Regions from separate parts of the Homo sapiens genome. Here region 1 is linked to region 2. Evidence: promoter capture Hi-C in human tissues and cell types (Jung and others, 2019). All regions are on one chromosome and are shown on one strand. The core of a region is centred on a gene start or on the middle of the fragment in contact, and the rest is flanking DNA. Distances in the headings are between cores, read along the strand shown.

The links. The method cuts DNA at HindIII sites, captures the fragments that hold promoters and counts their contacts. A contact is called where the count stands out against the background at its distance.
Region 1: a fragment that was not itself captured here is called in contact with the fragment with the promoter of ARL1 in region 2 in 1 of the 25 tissues and cell types used here (dorsolateral prefrontal cortex).

The regions. Positions count from the first base shown.
Region 1 is chr12:100,831,494-100,834,200 of GRCh38, reverse strand. All of the region lies in intron 1 of ANO4 (anoctamin 4), which reads right to left. Among named protein-coding and RNA genes, the nearest start is that of ANO4, 38 kb to the right of the region's middle. The HindIII fragment of the contact is 4,551 bases long and covers 1-2,707 here.
Region 2 is chr12:101,406,368-101,409,356 of GRCh38, reverse strand. ARL1 (ARF like GTPase 1) reads left to right here and starts at 1,585. Exons shown (of 6, transcript NM_001177.6): 1 at 1,585-1,715. The coding sequence starts at 1,712. RefSeq lists enhancers at 1,923-1,972, 2,053-2,102. The HindIII fragment of the contact is 11,101 bases long and covers 1-2,469 here.

The sequences.
Region 1 (2,707 bases), core at 74-2,573, 570 kb after region 2:
CAATTGCCACAACAGTGGAAGAAGCAGTCAGAGCTCATTCACCTCGGTGGTGGTGGCTTGCTCAACAACTGCTCCTGTTATGAGACTGTTCACCAGATTCCTCGTCTCTCACCCATGTGATACCTCTTTGCTTCCCATCCATTCCCAAGCTTGGTTCTCTAGACTGGTGAATCGAGTGAGCTACCTTAGCCCTCCCAAAAGGTCCTCTCTTTACCCATGTCAGCCAAATCCTTTCTATTGCTTGTATCCAAAAACTCCAATGATACAACATGAAAAAGAAAATAATAAATCAGAGTATTTATTAAGGGACAAATACGTTTCCTTATTTGGCTCAGAGAAGAATGCAAGTCCCATGGGGTCCATGTAAGAGAAGTGATCAGATCTAGTCTTTGAATAATGAACAGGATCATCTGGATGGGTGGGGAAGGATGAGGCTCTGAGACAAGGAAAAAAGAAACAATACTTTAAAATCTCCTACTATGAGCCAGACACTCTGCTAGACACCTTCCTCAAGAACCCACAACTAGTAAGACAAAGGTGGAGCTTAGATTTGAGACAAGATCAAAGTGTGGTTTCAAGGGAGTGTAAGCAAGACTGAGATAGAAGATCAAATGACTAATAGAAGAACCTCTTAATTGGAGGGGTGGTGAATAAAACTTGAGATTAATTATGAGGTAGTAAATGGTAGAACATCTAAATTTAAATCTTCAGGCTATGACTATTCATCCTGACTATGACTCAGGAATGGAAGTGAGGCTAGAAACATGAATTGGGTAAGAAACACAAATTTGAATATAAATTAGTGAATCAGTGCTCTAAAATAGTAAGCTAATCTATTTATGCATGTGAATGACAATATATTCCATTTGTATATTACTCTTTTTATACAATGTTTATCTTGAGCTGCATCAAACCCTAATGATTACATCAGGTGTTAGAATGGGGGTATTAAACTAAGAAGTAATTATTCTTTTGCTTTTCAGTTTTTAATTACTTTTTGAAAAGATAGATTGGAGGCCATAAGTTACATTTTTTCATTTTCATTACCCTCTCCAGTTCCTGAATAGTTTTTCAAACTGTGTGCATCCTCTCCCCCAGTCCCTTCCATATGGAAGTTCTAGTGTTCACAAATACGTTGCGAAAATAAGCTACAGAGCATTTTAAATATGCTTATTTTACTTGGTCAGAAGTGTCAGTCTCAGGCAATCTGTCTGCTAGAAAGCATAAAAACCAATTCCTCACACAAGAGTTGAAATATTAACTGAGTATAAGTGTTTAAAGTGTTAGCAGAAAATAAACAATATATTAGAGGTGGAGAAAGTGGCTCTGGGAAAGAAACTAATGATTGAAACCATGTTTTCTTCACTTTCTCTTTATTTAAGATGGTATCTTTAAGACCATATGTAGCTCAAAATGGTGAGTTCCTTTCCATTGTGTTCAGATAAAATTGGTTCCACAGATCTTGAGAGGAAAGTGATTTTGACATGGCAGGTGGCCAGCTGAAATCATTAAGCAGCAGGTCTGAACAAATACATAAGCAAAAGCACAGCAAAGAAAAGAACTATTAGCTGACTATTCCTCAACTAAAGTAGATGCTACCTCCCAACATCAGCAACATAAAATAATATTTCCCTAAGCAGATACTTTACACGTTTCCAAGAAACCAGAATGACTCCTGAGGTGATGGGTAAAAACTAGCAAAAGTCATCGGTTCTAGGTGGATTGGGGTGTTGGGTTATTTAAGGAAACACACGTTCATTTACTGCTAATTCTCTTTAACATGCATTTTCACAGAAACTATTGTTTTGCTTTTTCGTCAACTCACCCCAACACCTGCCAATACCCATCCTTTAGCAGAGACAGTTTTAGTCAAGGGTTTTACAGAAAGGATTCCTGTATAGAACAAAAAATAATTTAGGACCTTAAAGGGCCTCTCAGGTACCCTGAAATATAAGACTACATAAATATTCTTAAAAAGTCATCTGCGTTCTTTCATGACAGGTAGACTCTTCCAGAGTGATCTTCAAAGCTTACACAGAGGATTGGGGGGTGGGGAATGAGCGTCCCTGTCTTCATCAGCCTTCATTCTGGAGGCTGTGTTGCATAAACATGTGCATACCTGAAACTGGTGGATCTCAGTTCAAACCCTGGCTCTGACACCAGAACAGATTTAAGGATTGTTAACTTACAAATGGAATCATTTGTAATATGGGAATAAAGACGGTACCAGCCCGCTACATTTATACTTCTCAATAAATATTAACAATCAATATTTTCATTAAAATGCAAGTGGCATGCTTCAGGAAAAAAATCAGAAGAGTCTGGAATTTTAGAAATCATCTAGTCCCACTCTATCACTCTACTAATAAAGAAGTCACAGCCCAGAAAAGTGAAATGGCTTGTTCAAAGGGTCACAGCTAAGTGGCTGGGTGGCAGGGCTAGCCATGCAAAACCCATGTTTTCTGACACTCAGGACACTGGCCCTTCCACCTTATCACAACCTAATGAAGCTAGAACCACAAGTTTATTTTAATACATTTTATGTAATAAATACATATTAAGCATCTCCTACAGTCAAAGTTTCATACACTCTTTTCCTCTCCATCAGCCTTGTGTTACCACACTGAGGAGCCCAGTGCCCTCCCCAAATTGTTTTCTTTCTCCCTATCCCCATCCAAACAAGCTAATTATTTTTCCACAGGTGGAA
Region 2 (2,989 bases), core at 336-2,835:
GCCTCTCAAGTAGCTGGGACTACAAGTGCCACTGTGCCTGGCTAATTTTTTTATTTTTTTGTAGAGATGGGGTCTCACTATGTTGCCTAGGCTGGACTCCAACTCCTGGGCTCAAGGGATCTGCCCGCCTCGGCCTCCCAAAGAGCTGGGATTACAGGCCTGAGCCACGACACCTGGCCGACCTTAAATATTCTTAGCACAAAATAAACATATACACACAAGCACACACGACTATGTGAGGTGATGGGTATGTTATCATTTCACAACATATACAACTATGAAAACATCACATGGTACACTGTAAATATATACAATTTTTATTTAAAGCTAGAAAAATTCTTTTAAAATAAACTAAAAAGGCAGTCCATAAGCTTCTGTTGAATGGATGAAAATCTCTACCATAAATAAAAACATAATATGCAAAGGTATTAATAAGATTTGGAAGAAAACCTAAGAGAGTATTAACAGTAGTGACTACTGGGGATCACCGAGATACAGGGTATTAGGGATGGAAGGTTTACTTTTCTCTTTTTTTTTTTGAGACGGAGTGTCGCTCTGTCGCCCAGGCTGGAGTGCAGTGGCACGATCTCGACTCACTGCAACTTCTGCCTCCTGAGTTCAAGTGATTCTCCTGCCTCAGCCTCCTGAGTAGCTGGGACTACAGGCGCCCGCCACCACGCCTGGTGAATTTTCTGTATTTTTAGTAGAGACGGGGTTTCACCGTGTTAGCCACGATGGTCTCGATCTCCTGACCTCGTGATCCGCCCGCCTCGGCCTCCCAAAGTGCTGGGATTACAGGCGTGAGCCACCGCGCCCGGCCGGAAGGTTCACTTTTCAATGGATCTTTGGGAAGTTTCAAAACATACATGCTCAACCTTTAAAAATTTCTCTAGGGGAAATCCCTTCTCCACATCCTATAGGTGTGCTTCCTTCTTCCTCTCCACACACTTCACTATCAAAACCTACATTACTTCCAACAGTCGACCCTCGAGGGAATAAGTCCCTGGTCCCCACGATCGGGACCAGCCAGTCCACACTGCCGACCCCTGAAAGGCGGTCTCAGCTGCTCGGTCAGCGAGAAAAAAAGCCGGCGAGGTCCTCGTCCTGCAGGCCACAGCGAAGACAAAAACCTCTGGTTACTGGCCTCAGGTGCAAGGCTGCTCCGCATTGGCAGCGCGGTACCATTCCTATTATTATTACGTAGTCTTGTTTCTTTCTGGGAGAAAGCACCTAGGGAGAGTTGGGCTGGCCCCGCAGGGCGCTCCGGGACACGCGTCCTCTGCAACGCCGCAGCCTGCGCCAGCGTTCGACCGGGACGACTCATCGAGGCCCGACTCGCATTTTCAGTTGTCAGATTCGCCACTTTTTGGTGTCAGAATTTAAAACAAAAATTCCAATTTCTCTATTTCAGAAGCTCTTTCTGTCCAGAAAAACACAAGCAGGAGAGACTTCAGGTTTTTGAATTATTCGTCTCTTCTGGCCTCCACGGTATCTACATCCAGTGAGCGGGGACCGTGAGTCGAAAGCGACGACGCGGATGCTCAGGCCACCGTTCCCGGCGCGCAGTCGCAGCTGACCCTCGCTCCCGCCCCCGCCTGGAGTCCGACGTGGAAGTTGCTGGCTGACTGGGCTTGCGAGGAAACCGCCTCGGAGCTGCAGCCGAAGGCCAAGGAATCACTGAAGATCGGCGAGGGAGGACAGGGGGTTCATCATGGGTGAGGGGTTCGAGAAGGGCACCTGGGCGCGCTCGAGGGAGCCGCGGCCGAGGGCTGGGGTGCAGAGGAGGAGAGGGGCCGGCCAGGATACCCTAGAGTAGCCAGCTCCTCAGGGGGCGGGTCGCGGAGGACTTGACTCACTTTGGATCTTCATCTGTAGGGGTGGATCCGGCCTCTCGCGTTCTCCTCCGTCCTCTCTCGGTTCCCCTTGATTCCTGCGGGGTCCAGGGACCCGGACAGCTTGGGGACGTCCGCAGAGCCTGGGTTCGAGTTCTTTACCCTTATCATGAAGTTTTCCCTCATCCCCAGCTCCACTTGCTGGGCAGAGTTGTTCTTGCGGAGGCTGGCAACGCGTCAGTCGCAGGTTCGCCGAGGTTTCTTGGTGAAAGATGAGCTGCGGCCCCAGAGTGGAAGCTTAATCATTCTCTTTACCAGGGGCGCTGGGACGGCGTCAGTTTGAAAAACCTGAGAGCAGGTGTTGCTTATGTTGTTTTATGGCCAGTTTGGCATTTGTCTGCTAATCTGCTGTAGCGTTTCATGTAATAATACGGGTATTTCTAGTCGGCAAATGAAACTTTATTCTTGGTTCTTGGCCCGCTGATTGAGGGAACTGCATTCTCACAAGCATCAGGTAACACCCTCGCCCCGCTAGAACCCAAGTGAGGGTGCACATTCTTTAACTCGTTTCTCACCCTCCAAATGAAGGTGCAGATTCTTTGGCTTGGTTAAATCCCTCCACAGTTTTCTGGGGAGCATACTTCTTGCTCCCAAGCATCACAGGCGCTGTCCTGTCTTCCATAACCGCCTTCAGTTTTGTTCCGCCTCTCTTCTACCTGTAAATGGTAGAAAGGACTTTGTCAAGTCACACCTATTCTGTTGAACTTTCCCAAGGTTCTCTAGCCCATGGTGTTGTTCATTTTTCAACTCGCAGCTCTTAGTTATGCCATGTCTTTGCCAAATAACAGTGTGGCATCACTTCTGATGTTAACTATTTTTTTTTGTATTAATGTAACTTGTTTTTAATCTTCTCTAATGGCTCTGGATGGGAAAAGGACTGTGCTTTTTATCCTACACAATACTTGGTGTACAGGAAGCTTTCTGGGAATATTTTGTGATGCATTGGATAGAGCTTTATTATTTTTAAAAGTGGGTTTTTTGTCAAAAATAGTTATTGTTTTCAGCTTTTTTCTCAATTTCTTGTACTAGCTATATTGCTTCGTGGAGAACTCTGATTGAAGTTGGTTATAGTGGTACTGCTGCTGTACAGTACTTTT